Regions from separate parts of the Homo sapiens genome. Here region 1 is linked to region 2. The links are contacts of gene promoters, found by promoter capture Hi-C in blood cells and fetal thymus (Javierre and others, 2016). All regions are on one chromosome and are shown on one strand. The core of a region is centred on a gene start or on the middle of the fragment in contact, and the rest is flanking DNA. Distances in the headings are between cores, read along the strand shown. Region 1 holds the start of YBX1 (Y-box binding protein 1). Region 2 holds the start of GUCA2A (guanylate cyclase activator 2A).

The links. The method cuts DNA at HindIII sites, captures the fragments that hold promoters and counts their contacts. A CHiCAGO score of 5 or more calls a contact.
Region 1: the fragment with the promoter of YBX1 here is called in contact with the fragment with the promoter of GUCA2A in region 2 in 3 of 17 cell types (endothelial precursors, M2 macrophages and erythroblasts); the score reaches 6.1 in endothelial precursors.

The regions. Positions count from the first base shown.
Region 1 is chr1:42,678,173-42,684,988 of GRCh38, forward strand. It overlaps YBX1 (Y-box binding protein 1), which reads left to right and starts at 4,246. Exons shown (of 8, transcript NM_004559.5): 1 at 4,246-4,559; 2 at 5,231-5,294. The coding sequence starts at 4,394. It also overlaps a transcript of PPIH not described here. RefSeq lists an enhancer at 3,902-3,951 and silencers at 4,392-4,591, 4,782-4,891, 5,002-5,151. The HindIII fragment of the contact is 3,657 bases long and covers 2,681-6,337 here.
Region 2 is chr1:42,159,619-42,166,582 of GRCh38, forward strand. GUCA2A (guanylate cyclase activator 2A) reads right to left here and starts at 5,127. Exons shown (of 3, transcript NM_033553.3): 1 at 5,020-5,127; 2 at 3,785-3,992; 3 at 3,072-3,352. The coding sequence starts at 5,094. The coding sequence ends at 3,288. RefSeq lists an enhancer at 4,987-5,951. The HindIII fragment of the contact is 7,781 bases long and covers 1,305-6,964 here.

The DNA.
Region 1 (6,816 bases), core at 2,996-5,495, 520 kb after region 2:
AAAGAGATGGGGAGGATGAACAGCTGTGATCCGGAGTTGACATTCTTGAGATGGGCTGGTCAGCTGCACTCTGTTACATCTGGCACCTACATTCTATGCCAGTCTCTGTCCTAGGCCCTGGAGCTAGGTAAGATGTGGCTCATGCTTGTGATAGGAGACAGGGACAGTTTCAATGCATGGTGGTATTAGAATGTGAGCCCGTGTGAGGGCAGGGCAGGATATTTGGGTTTTTTGTTTTTCGTTTTGAGACGGAATCTCACTCTGTCGCCCAGGCTGCAGTGCAATGGCGCGATCTTGGCTCACTACAACCTCCACCTCCCAGGTTCAAGCGATTCTCCTGCTTCAGCCTCTCGAGTAGCTGGGACTACAGGCACATGCCACCGTGCCCGTCTAATTTTTTGTATTTTTAGTAGAGACGGGGTTTCACTGTGTTAGCCAGGATGGTCTCGATATCCTGACCTCATGATCTGCCCACCTCGGCCTCCCAAAGTGTTGGGATTACAGGCGTGAGCCACCACGCCTCGCCGATCTTTTTGCTTTGTTTTGTTTTTAGCTGCTGTGTCCCCAACACCTGGAAGAACTGAGCTTCTGGAATCTAATAGATGCTAAATAAATATTTGTTGCATGAATGATAGTGGTATGAGAGGAAGAGGGAAAAAAAACGGAAAAAGGCTTCTTGGAAGAGGTGACACTTGAGGTAAGTATTGACAGGCTTTAATATGCCAGATCAACAAGGTGGCGAGGGCTTTCTAGGAAGAGGGAACTGTGTTCTTAGGCCACAGTCTATTAGAGATGGGGGGACAAGGTAAAAGTTATTTTGCAGAGAAGATTCTTGGGATGAATCCCTTGCCCATCACATCACTTAAAGGCAGGCACTGGAGTTGTCTGTACTGTGCTCACCACGGACAGCTGGATGGTGTGAGCTCCCAGGATGGCAGGGAGACTAGTAAAGCTCTGCAGTGGTGCTCTCCCACTTTGGAACAGTCATGAACTATTGGTGCTTGTAGAGAGGTGGCTACAAGAAAATTATTTTTTGAGACATAGTTTCAGTCTGTCACCCAGGCTGGAGTGCAGTGGCACAATCTCAGCTCACTGTAACCTCCGCCTCCCGGGTTCAAGCGATTCTCCCTCCTCAAACTCCCGAGTAGCTGGGATTACAGGCACATGCCACCATGCCCAGATCATTTTTGTATTTTTAGTAGAGATGGGGTTTTGCCACGTTGGCCGGGCTGGTCTCGAACTCCTGACTTCAAGTGATCCGCCTGCCTCGGCCTCCCAAAGTGCTGAGGCATGAGCCACCGTGCCTGGCTGCAAACTAGTTTCTTAAACAGCTTATCCTCAGGCTCACTGAGCACGAAGAGAGCTGAATGAAGTAACTGGATGAGTAAGTAATGATACTTTTTAAAGTAACATTGAAAAGACAGATGTTACACAATTTGTATTTTTGCTTGAGAAGCCATCCCTTCAAAGCAGTTACATAGTGAGGCTGTTCACTTATTCGTAGAGGTGCTGCTGCAATATTTTCTAAGTGTCTTTGTAACTGGAGAAAAGCTCTCAAGCCTATAGGGCATGCTTTTAAATGTCCTCAGTGTTGGCAGGACTGCCTTTTGGGGAAACATTTTAACATTCAAGTCATCTGGAGCTGGAACACATGAACAACAGCTGTGGAATCCACCCACTCTCCATACACATTGCTGCTGAAAGCCTTTTTCACCTGGATTACTGGCACAGCTGCCCAGATGACCCTTCTGCTGCCAGTACCTTTTTCAATTCATGTTCTACACCATGTCGCTCATTTAACGAATCTTTTAAGGTATTATGTGTCAGGCACTAAGATGCCCAAGGAAGTCACAGTCTGGTGGGGAACATTTAATTAGAGCAATACAGTGTGTTAAGATGGGAGGGATTCTTAACCTAGTAGCATCTGAGCCAAGACCTAGAGGATGAAGAATTAAGCAGGCAAAGAGGAAGGAGGAAAGGAAGAGTGTTGTATGTAGAATTTTATGTAATACTCCAAACGTAACAGTGGCTAAAGGACTCCACTAGATGACAGTCCTTTCTCTACGATGTCCTCTGAAGCATGTTTACTTGGCTGGAGAGTTGCAAGTGTCTATTCTGTAGGGCCCTTGTAATATTTCACCATCTCCCTTGTCATCTGATACACTGAAGCAACACTTTTAACCAATTTCTATTTTCATAGAATTCAGCTGTTTGCTACCTCTGCTCCTGCAGTATCCTGCAGCCAGTAGTTACAAGCACCTGGAAGGTTGGACAGGGAATACAAGAGAAGACTCTAAGACTTCTCTTAGAAGTCATAGAGTCCAGTAAACCACATTATGGAATCTGGACTACCCTAAGGGTAATAGTAGTCACTGGAAGATTTTAAGTAAGACAGTGTCATGATCAGATAGATGTTCTCAAAAGAACTTTCTGGCTGTTGTGGTGGGTAATATTAGAGTAAGAAAGAGGTAGAGAGGTGTGGTTAGTAGCCAACAGCACTGCTCTATGCTAGGGGTCAGCCGACTACACTCCGTTTTTCTGTGGCTCATGAGCTAAGAATACAAATGGTTTTTAAAATGTTTAAATAGTTGAAAATATGTAAAGATTCGTGTCATGTAAAAATTAAGGCTGTTTTCAAGCTCCAAACCTGAGTAGTAAGTCAGAACCATATGGTCGGCCAAGCTTATATTATTAACTATTTGGCTCTCACAGAAAAAGGTTCCTACCCCTTGCTCTAAGCAATTGGTGATGATGGCCTACAGTAGTGACAGTAGGAATGAAAAGACTCTGAATTGACATTTAGAGGGTTTAGGACTGACTCAAGAACGCCTTTAGGAGGTGGAACTCACAGGCCTAGACGGCATTGGTAGGGGTAAGGAATACTGCATTAGCCTCCTAACTGCTTTCTCTACTTCCATTCCTTGCCCCTCTGCAACCCATTCTCCACTCCGCAGCCATTTTTAAAAAGATGCCCCTCCCTACTTATGACTCTAAAATTGCTCTTCTCACTCTTCCCCTCAGGATATATTTCCAATTAAATATACCTAAGTGACTGCCCACCTCTGCAACCCAATGTCACATTCGAGTCTTACTGAACTACTTGACTGCATTTCCCGAGATCTCACCTCTTCTCGCCTGTACCCTGTGCGCGGAAAGTCAGCCCTCCACCTTCTCCCTGCTTCCACTCCCAAAATACTTCGTGGTTTTGCAGCTCTGGAGTATTTACCGTGTTGGCTGTTTAAATTTCTGCCTCCATCAGAAGGCAGAAACTGACTCGCGAACTATTCCATCCCCAGCCGATAGTAGACGCTTAAAAAAGAACGAAAGAAGGTGGGTGGAGGACTTCAGTAACATCAGGTGGCAGCCTCAATTTTATCGTTTGTGAAACGTGGATAGTAATCCCTCTATCACGTGGCTGTTGCAGGAATAAAGTGAAAAAACAAAACAGGCTAGCTTGTTCAATAAATGTGAGTTGAATTAAATCTGATTTGTGGTCAGTAGAAAAAGATGTGAATACTTGGAAAGGAAGACACATTTTTTTAAATATATGCCTGGTAAAACGGATCAGAAGGCAGGTCCCCATGGAGCACACCCTCGCCCTAAACATGCTGAACCCGGGCTGCCATAGCCTGCGTGGTCCCTCCAAGGTGACTGCTCCGACAAAAGGGTACGCTCTTCAAACGCATACGTTTAAGGCAATTCCAGAAACCCTCGGCTGTGCCGCGACTACACGGCCATTAAAGAAAAGACGACTCTATGCCCGCCGTAATGTTCTCAGATCACAGGGACCGTATTTGGAGCTGGGAGGGAGGGAAGCCTTTTCTTCACGGGGGGCTAAGGCGTCTTCGAGCCCCCTTCCAATCCCGGGTCCGGCCGGGTAATCCCTGCCCAGCGTTCGGGCGTGCCTTTTTTTCAGCCGAGACACAACCCTGAACGTGGGGCCCGCCAGCCCGGCGGCTGCCTCGTGGAAGTCACGTTCCTTCTGCCCGTCCTCTCGGGTACTCTATGGTTTTCGTGGCCGACTACTCTAATTCTAGTTCCGGTCTCTATGGCGGCCGGCGGAGGCAGGAACGGTTGTAGGTCGACTGAATTAGCCGCCAAAGGTCCAATGAGAATGGAGGACTGATAAAATATTAGCCAATAGAAGCTAGGGATTGGGGTCAGGTGGGCAGATTGACAGTACCACTGGCCAGTGAACAACGCCTAGGGCGGGTCGCTCGTAGGGCTTATCCCGCCTGTCCCGCCATTCTCGCTAGTTCGATCGGTAGCGGGAGCGGAGAGCGGACCCCAGAGAGCCCTGAGCAGCCCCACCGCCGCCGCCGGCCTAGTTACCATCACACCCCGGGAGGAGCCGCAGCTGCCGCAGCCGGCCCCAGTCACCATCACCGCAACCATGAGCAGCGAGGCCGAGACCCAGCAGCCGCCCGCCGCCCCCCCCGCCGCCCCCGCCCTCAGCGCCGCCGACACCAAGCCCGGCACTACGGGCAGCGGCGCAGGGAGCGGTGGCCCGGGCGGCCTCACATCGGCGGCGCCTGCCGGCGGGGACAAGAAGGTCATCGGTGAGGACCGGACAGGGACGGGGGTGGGGCCCTCGGGCAGCCCAGCAGCGGAACCGTTAGCCGGAGCTGGGCGAGCCGGCGGGCGCGCGGCCGGTGGGCACCGACTCCGCGGCGCGCGGCCGCCCATCCCCCCCGTCCCCCCCTCACTCCCTCTCGCGGGGACCCGCCCGGCAGGCGCGCGCGCACTGCCTCCCGCGCCCCCTGTGGACCCCGCGCGGCCGCGCGCCCCTCCCCCTGCGGCCGCGCGCCGCCGACCGCGTGTGCGACGGGGTCCCCTCCCCGCCGACCGGCCTCGTGCGCTCGGGCCCGCACGCCGTTGTTCGCGTCACCCCCACCCAGCTCCCTTCCGCGTGTGCTCGGAGGGCGCGGCGCACCGCCTACGCAGGCCGGAGCGGCTTCCCCTTCCCTCACGTGCTCTCCGTCCGCGGCCTGCGCACACACCCATCCTGGGGCCCGCGCCCCGGGCCTGCCCTGGAGCGCCCCGCGCTTCAGACTCACCCACGTGTGCGGCGGCGGCGGCGACTGCGTGGCCCCGCACCCGGGCGGTGGAGAGAAAGGGCTGTCAGGTGGCCGCGGCGGCCGGCGTGCGAGGGACCGGATGCCCAAGCCGGGCGGATTTGGAAAAGGATAGCTGGTAATCGTGGCTTGTTTTGCTTTGTTTTCTTTTCCAGCAACGAAGGTTTTGGGAACAGTAAAATGGTTCAATGTAAGGAACGGATATGGTTTCATCAACAGGTGAGCTGCCGGGCTCTGAAGCCTCCATCCCACCTTCTTGCTTGCTTCCTGCTCTGTCGGCTTCTCGGGGCTTGGGAAGCCCCAATCCACAGCTCTGTTCTGAAAGGCGTTTACTACCTCTGGTGTATTAGTATGATTTTTTGTTGTTGTTGTTTTCCTTGATTAGGGATTAGTGGATCTAGAGAATGCCTTTGTTTTGCAGCTAAATATTAATTTGAAGCTAACTTAAAAGGCTTCGTCACAGTACAAAGCAATTCAAAAGGCAAGCGGAGTGAATGAGCCATTCCTTAACAGGGTAAACGGGAAACTACGGTCCAGTACATTTTTATCCTTGTCATCTTTTTCTACTTTATTGAACTCGGTATTTGAGAATGTGATCCACTGACATCGGATATTTATACATTGTTAACGTTTTAGGGTAAGAGGATTTGACTATATGAGGTTTTGTCATCTTTACCGAGAGGTTGTATTGCCTTTGTTTCACGTTTCATTTTAATACCTGAGATAAATTTTGTCTTAGCACAGCTTTGACCAGAGAGAACTGTTTTTATTTGCTCATCCAGTAAATAATATATTTACAAGAAAGTGGTTTTTTTTCCTTCTTCCGTTCTTATTTTTCATTCTTCCTTGTCCTAGAATCATAACTGGTTAAGTCGATTTCTGTTAGATCCCTGGCTGTAGCTTATTAGAGTGGCCATAGTCACTGGTAACTTGACATTTTTCTTCCTGTTTGAAGGCAAAGCTGCAGACACGTCTTTAGGACTTACCCTTCGGGTTGTTTGTAGGAGTGGTGGTGGTAACGTGCAGTAGACGCACTGTATTCCATGGGCTCCCTTGTAAGCCGGGCATCATTTTCAAGATGGCTGCCAAGGCTAGTAGTGCTAGTTACATGGGTGCAGAGCACTGGGTATGCCAGTAGCAATCTTGGCCTCACAGGTATGGTACTTAGTGCCATCTCAGCATTGTCTTGCTTGCTTACTGTAGAAGACCTAAGCAGATGATTAAAAGAACAATGTGGAATGGACAACAAATGGGCAAAATCAAGCTTAAGGACAGAATCATTGCCTGATGAAAAACTGTTCATTAATCAATCATAGAGTATTGTGGAAACACTCAGAGTAAGAGATAAGCATTTGGTGATCTATTCTCTACTTTTGCAATTGTGGGAAAATATTTTGTTTCTTCCAAAATCTTAGGATTTTCCATCTTGTTATATACTGTTTGCTTTCCTGGCTGGCCGAAACTACGTTTTTCATTAATTTTTTGATAATGGCTTACTAGCAAGAAGGAAGGGAATGCTTATATATAATTGGCATACTGATAGCTTTTTAACTGATCTCTCTGAACTTTCTAGTGTTTTAGTTTGTATTTCTGTCTTACTCTGATTATCGTTACTAGTCTAACCCTTAAACCAGTGGTTTTCAAATTTAAGTGTGCTTACCTTGGGAGGGTGTGATGTAAGTGGTGAGTTCCTCCTTCTGAGCCTTGGATTCATTAGGTCTGGGTACATTTTTAACAGGAA
Region 2 (6,964 bases), core at 3,877-6,376:
TGATCCTCTTGCCTCAAGCTTCCGAGTAGCTGGGACTACAGGCATTCACCACTGCTCCTGCCTTCTTCCAGTAGCTTTACAGTTTCAGGTCTTAAGACTTTAATCCATTTTGAGTTAATTTTTGTACATGAGGTTAGATAAGTGTCTAATTTCATTTTTCTGCATGTCCCAATACCATTTATTGAAGAGACTGTCCTTTCCCCATTGTGTGATCTTGGCACTTTTGTCAAAGATCAGATTGTAAATGTGTAGATTTATTTCTGGGCTCTCTCTATTCTGTTCCATTAGTCTCGTTGTCTGCTTTGTGCCAGTACTATGCTGTTCTACAGCTCTGTAGTAGATTTTGAGATCAAGTAGTGTGATGCTTCCAGCTTTTTCTTTTTTGCTCAACATTGCTTTGGCTATTTGGGGAATTTAGGATTGTTTTTCCTATTTCTGTGAAAAAATGTAATTGGAATTTTGATAGGGATTGCATTAAATCTGTGGATCATTCTGGATAGTATAAACACTTTAAAAATATTAATTCTTCCAATCCATGAATATGGAATACCTTTCCATTTATTTGTATCTTGTTTAATTTCTTTCATCAATGTTTTATGTTTTTCTAGTGTTTGATTCTTTTCCATCATTGGTTAAATTTATTCCTAAGATGTGTGTTGTTGTTGTTGCTGTTTAAATGGGCTTGTTTTCTTGATTTCTTTTTCAGATCATTCATTGTTAATTATAGAAATGCTACTGATTTTTGTATGTTGATTTTGTAATCTGCAACTTTACTAAATTTGCTTATTAGTTCTAATAGCTTTTTAGTAGAGTCTCTAGAGTTTTCTATACATAAGATGATGTCATTTGCAAATACAGACAATTTAACTTCTTCCTTTCCAAGTTGGATGCTTTTTTATTTTTTTTCTTGCCTAATTGCTCTGGTTAGGGCTTCCAGTACAGCACTATGTTGAATAAAAGTGGCAAGAATGGGCACCCTTGTCTGGTTCCTGATGTTAAAGGGATAGCTTCCAATGCTTTTGAGTATTCTCCCTTTTTCTTAGTCTAGCTAAAGATTTTGCAATTTTATTTATCTTTTCAAAAACCCAACTCTTACTTTTGTTCATCTTTTCTATTGTTTTTCTGGTTTCTATTTCAGTTATTTCTGCTCTGATCTTTTCTTCGTTAACTTTGGGCTTAGTTTGTTCTTTTTAGTTCCTTGAGGTAAAACAATAGGTTGTTTATATGAAATCTTTCTTCTTTTTTGATGTAGGCATTTATTGCTATAAATTTCCCTCTTTGAACTGCTTTTGCTGCACCCCATAAGCTTTTGTATGCTGTATTTTCGTTTTCACTTGTCTCAAGATACTTTTCAATTTCCCTTTTGATTTCTTATTTGACCCAGTGGTTGTTCAAAACCAGGGGAGTTTTAAAAATTTTTCCAGCATTTTTTCATTTACTCTTCACTCAACCCTATGATATATGGATTCTTATCTTCCCCATTTTACAGATGAGAAAACTGAGGAGAGAACAGGCTAGGTAGCCTGCCTAAAGGCACATAGCTGTAAAAGACAGAGCCAGGATTTATACCCAAAGAGTCTGGCTCCAGAGTTAGGGCATTAAATGATTCTACTCTACCATACATCTCACTTAATCCCCCGCCAACCTTGGGAGGTAGGGTCTGTTATCATCCTCACTTTCAGATGAGAAACCAAGCCTCAGAGAGGGACACTCAGCTTGTAAATGACACAGTAAGGCTCAAACTCAGTCCTGTCTGCCTTCCCAAGCTCCACTCTGTCCTGACTGAACCATTCCTATGTCTTTGTGTCTGTCTGCACCATTCCCACCTTCTGCAACACTCTCTTTCTCCCTACTTCCACACTGGTTTTGAAATTCCCTGCATCCCAGTGCAAATCTCGAGGGGTGATGCAAATGCACTTGCCCTTCCCCTTTCACAAAGCCTTACTGATCTCAACTAGAAGAGACCTTATGTTTTGAATTCTGAAGCCCATGGAATCCCCCTTGAGACACTTCCCCTCCACCCCACTCCTCAAGATGGACCCTTGGGAGTTCTGCCTCCTCTTTTTTTTGTTCCCTCTACCTTTGCTAATAGGCCTCACTTCCACACCCTGCCTCCTCACCCTGTCTGAACCACTTTCAGCCTGATCCTGGTCCCCTTTTCTCTAGTTTGTTTTACCACTTATTGAATTCCTCTTACGTTTGTGTCAGGCCTGAACTGAGGGCTTTATATGCATTATTTCACCCAGCCTGGGAGGCAGGAAATATTAGTGTCCCAGTTTTATAGAGGAAGAGGTGGAGGCACAGAGAGGGAAGGTGACTTTCCAAAGATCACACAGTACTTGGAAAAGCTGTGGCTGGGCCCCTGCCCTGTTTTATATCCTCATGCAATTATCCATGTGGGTCTGGAGGTCAGAGAGACTTCCCCAGGCACAGAAGCCATTACACAACAGGGTGGCCACAGCTGTGCAAGGGTTGTGGGTGATCACAGTGCCCAGAAAGCACCAAGGTCAAGGTCACAATGGGAGCACTGAGACTCTTCCTGGGGGGTTGAGCAAGTTGTCTTGAGGAGAGGCCGTGGAATGAAAGCCTTGGACCCTGAGTAGGAGTTTGCCTGGACAGTAGTGTGGGAAGACGGGCAGTGGAGAGGTGAGCAGCAGCAGAGGAAATGGCAAGAGGTGTGGTTTGGGATGTGGTCAGGGCTGGAGGCCACACTAGCATGGCTGGTGGGAGCCAAGTCCTTGAATACCCAAGAGTTTGGTGCCAGTCTTCTAGTGGGCCAAGTGCCTGTATTGGTTGTCCAAACCAGCTCAGACTGGCTCCCGTGCTCACATGTGGCTCAGTGAACTTGGTGACCTCAGGAGATGTGAAATAAAAGCAAACCCTCCCCACCACCCGCTGCCTTGGTGGTTTGGAGATCCAGATCCTCTCCACGCCTCTGTGTTGTGGCAGCCCCAGGGACAGTGAGCAGCTTAGCAGGGAGAGTGGGGTCCTTCGCTTAGTACATTACATCCCGAGCTTCCAGGGCAGGATAGACTAGGGGATGAAGGAAGGAAGGAAGGCAACACCCAGAGTACTCTGGAATCTGGTTTATTAGCTGGGGGTTGAAGTGGCAGGGAAGGACAGTGTTGGGGCGAGGCCTCCAGTCACCCAGTTCCTCCCCGGGCTGCTCCTCCCGACTGGACCAGGGTAGGTTGAGCTGCTGGGAGTGGAGTATCATGGGTGGCCCTTTCTGCAGGAGAAAAGAGCTTCCCTGCTGCGGAGGGGAGGCAGGCAGTGGGCAAGCCCCCCTAGCATCCGGTACAGGCAGCGTAGGCACAGATTTCACATGTGCCCGGGTCCTCAGCGATTTCCTCTGCACAACAGAGATGGAGCCTCGTGAGAACCAGCATTTCCTCGCGAGGCCCCTGCCGCCCTTGGCCCAGAGCTTGTACGTCACCACCCAGCCCCAGGAGAATCTCAGCAGGCCCGTACTCTGACCTACTGGGCTTTTCGCCCCAAACCAGGGCACACAGACCACTCAAACCAACCAATCAAAGCAGAGATTCCACCAGAAAGAGAGGAAACTAAGACCAGATGAATGGTCTTAGTTCCCAAACCTCAGCAGTTACAACTTGGAATTGAAGTGGGCATGGAACAGACCCACCAATCAGAGCCAAGCTCCCTAGTTCCACCAGTCAGAGCTGAGCCCTTCCTCCAAATCCCACCAATCAGAGCACATCTCTTCCTCAAGTGCCACCACAGTATTCCCGAACCCCACCAATCAGAGAGGAAGGAGGCTGCTCACCCAGCCTCTGAAGTATCTCCTGGGCATTGGGCTCCTTGCAGAGAGGCTTGAGTTCTTCTGGAAAGTTCGGGTTGCTACAGAGGATGGGAACCACAGGTTCACCAGGGATGGGTGCAAAGTTCCTGAGTTTCCCAACCCTGGGCTCCTGGGGCTCCTGGAGGTCTTTGAGCTTCTTCACTGACTCCAGAGAAAAGGAGAAATTTCCATCCTGGAAGAGAGAAGCCCAGAGCATGAGGCCAGGCTGCAGCCTGCTTCCTGGCTGTGCCCCCCGTGCTGGCCCCGGTCCAGCCCAGTGGTGCTCACAGGCAGTGTTCGTGGCATATGGGAGCCAGGCGATCCACAGTGGGGCACTGTGAGGGGCAGAGTTCAGGCCCCACGTCCTGGCTTGGCTCCGTGATGCTGGACACTCTGGAACCCGCAAATTCTGCATGTTGTATGGGGAATGGAGAAAATGGGTGTGAAGCTCCAGGAACACCATAGGTGCCTAATGAGTAGGAGCCAGTGTGCTGATTTTTAGGGAGAGGCAAAGGACCAGCACCCAGGCATCGTAGTTCCACGTGGCCAAGCCCAGGCTGTCTTTCCCCTGCCTGAGAGCGGTGCGGCTGATTACTGGGCCCCCAGCTCCAGCCTGCAGCCTGGTTTTGGTTTGAGAAGCAATAAAAGGCCTCCCGGAATCTGGCTTTGATAGAGATCAGGGCCCCCGCTAGGTGCCAGCTTGGCCTGTCGCCAGCATTGGCACTGGTAGGCATACCCATCTGTCAGGACCTCCAGGGTGTCCATGTGGTTCCTGGGACCCACTGAGGAGTAAGGTCTGGATTTAAATCCAGCTCCTGCACTTCCCACAGCCATGTGCCCATGGCCTGTTACAGAACCTTTGTGAGGCTCAGTTTTCCCCTCTGTAAAATGGGACTAATGATCCCTTTCTTCCAGGTTGATAGTGGAGCCACAGTGAGGGGCTGGGGAAGGAGCCGGCACATAGGACACTCAGTAAATTGGCCAACTCCCCGCCTTCCCCATATGGTTATTCCTCTTCCCTCCACTGGGTTTCTTTCTCCTCCAAAGTTGAAGGGAAAGGTGTGTGTGTGGCTGGACTGAGCAGGAGCTCCTCGAAGAAGGCCAAGCCTGGGACACACACCCTCAATCCAGCCCCAAAGAGGAGGTACTCTCTCAGGGGACCAGACCTGGGCACTAGGGGCAGGGAGCCAGCTGGGCCGGGGTAGGGACACAGGACTCACCTGCACGGTGACCCCTCCTGCCAAGGCGGCCCAGGCCCCAAGGAGGCACAGTGCGGAGAGCAGGAAGGCATTCATGGCAGCAGTGCCCGAGAGAGGGGTGGCTGTTCTGGATGCCAGGGGGAAGCGGCGGGACTTTTAAAGAGGGCAGGTTACTGAGTAACCTGGAAGCCTCTGTCAGTCTCATCTGCTCACCTGTCAGGCCTTATCAGATAAGGCTCGAGACAGCCCTAGGAGATAAGAGCCAGGCAGGGGGGGCCCCGGCCCCTCCCTGAGCACCTACTTTGACCCACAGCCGGGCTGGGTCCTGCATTCATTCACCAACAAGGCACATTCACTCACGACTGCCCTGTGCTGCTGTGTGGGGCCGGCAGACCCTGCCCTTGAGGAGGGGGGCCCAGCCCGACAGTGAAACGCAGGGCGATTAGGGTGGGGTGATCCTAGGATGAGGTGACGGGGCTGCACTGGGGGCTGAGCTCTGGAGAATGGGTGGAAGTTTTCCCAGAGAAGGGACTGAGGACAGAAGGCCATTTCATGCCAAAGGGACAGCCAGGAGGTGAGACGGGCCTGGAATATTCAGGGAAATGTGAGAAATTCCACGGGGGAGGCTGCAGGGCAAGTCAGGGTCTGGGTTTGATTGCCGCGACCTCAAGGAAGCCCTCCGCACAGCCTGGGTTCCGTTCCACCTACTGCCCAGTTGTGAGGCGTGTGAACTTGGGCCAATGCTTTCCCCTCTCTGAGTCTCGTTGTCCCTTGTGTCCCCTGTGGGAACCAAAAATAATACCTACCTCATGGGGTAGGTGTGTGGTAGGCATTACTGTTTGGAGAATCAAGTGAGGTTTTAAAAACATTTAGCTCAATGCCTGGCACACAGAAGGTGCTCAGCAGAGGTCCATTCCCATATTATTAGCAGCCACAGCAGCTCCTGGTCCTCCCTGGCCCCTCTGGTGACCTCCTGCCTGTCTGAGTCACAGGCTGTCCCCATCCTGTGCTGGTCCCCATCCTGTCCTGCCTGCCCTGCAGCCTCAGGGTGTCCTCGAATGAGCTCCTCCCCAATCCGCCCGCCCCCCTTGCCCCTGCAGATACAGTCCCCTTTCCGCGGATCTCACTGGGGAATTGCTTGGGTGTGCCCGCGCCCCTATAGACTCTGACCCCATTCAGACTGCGCCCTCAGGGCAGCGTGCATTCACTGTGTGCTGTTGTGAGCAGGAATCCCCAGGACACAGGAGAAAGGGTAGCCCTGGGATTGTCATCTTTCTACTCAGCCAACCTGGCCCGATGCCAGGACAGCCCTAGGGCGGGAGGTTGGGCAGGAATTCCTGGGTGGGGAGAGTCAACACTGAAGAGGGAATTGGAGAGAGCAGGGCCTGACCAGGAGGGAACTGCAGGGACAAGGCCCTCAGGGAGGGGCAGGTAGCTCCTGGCCCAGCTCCCAGGGCAGTCCTCACAGCTGCACTGGATTTCCCACCCCTTTCTGGTGAGTGTGTGTGTGTGTGTGTGTGTGTGTGTGTTAAGGGGGGGTGTGTCTGCGGAGATGTGTATGTCTGTGTATGCCAAGGTGTCTGTATATACCCTGATGGGTGTGTGTAGCCAAGGTGTGTTTGTATGTGTGCTTGTGCTGAAGGTGTGTGTGTGCTGAGGCATGTGTGTACACTGAGGAGTGTATGTGTATATATGCTGAGGTGTATGTGTGTGTATGCTGAGGGGTATATGTGTGTCCGTGTACACCAAGGTATCTGTGTCTGTGCAAGGAGGTGTGCATATATACATCGAGGTGTGTGTGTGTCAGTGTGTATATACACAGGCGCGTGTGTGTACACCGAGGTGTGTGTGTTTGCTGGGATGTGTGTCTGCTGGGGTGTCTGCTGGGGTGTGTGTATGTGCACTGAGGTATGTGTGTGTGTATGCTCATGTGTGTATATGCACTGAGATATGTGTGTGTATGTGC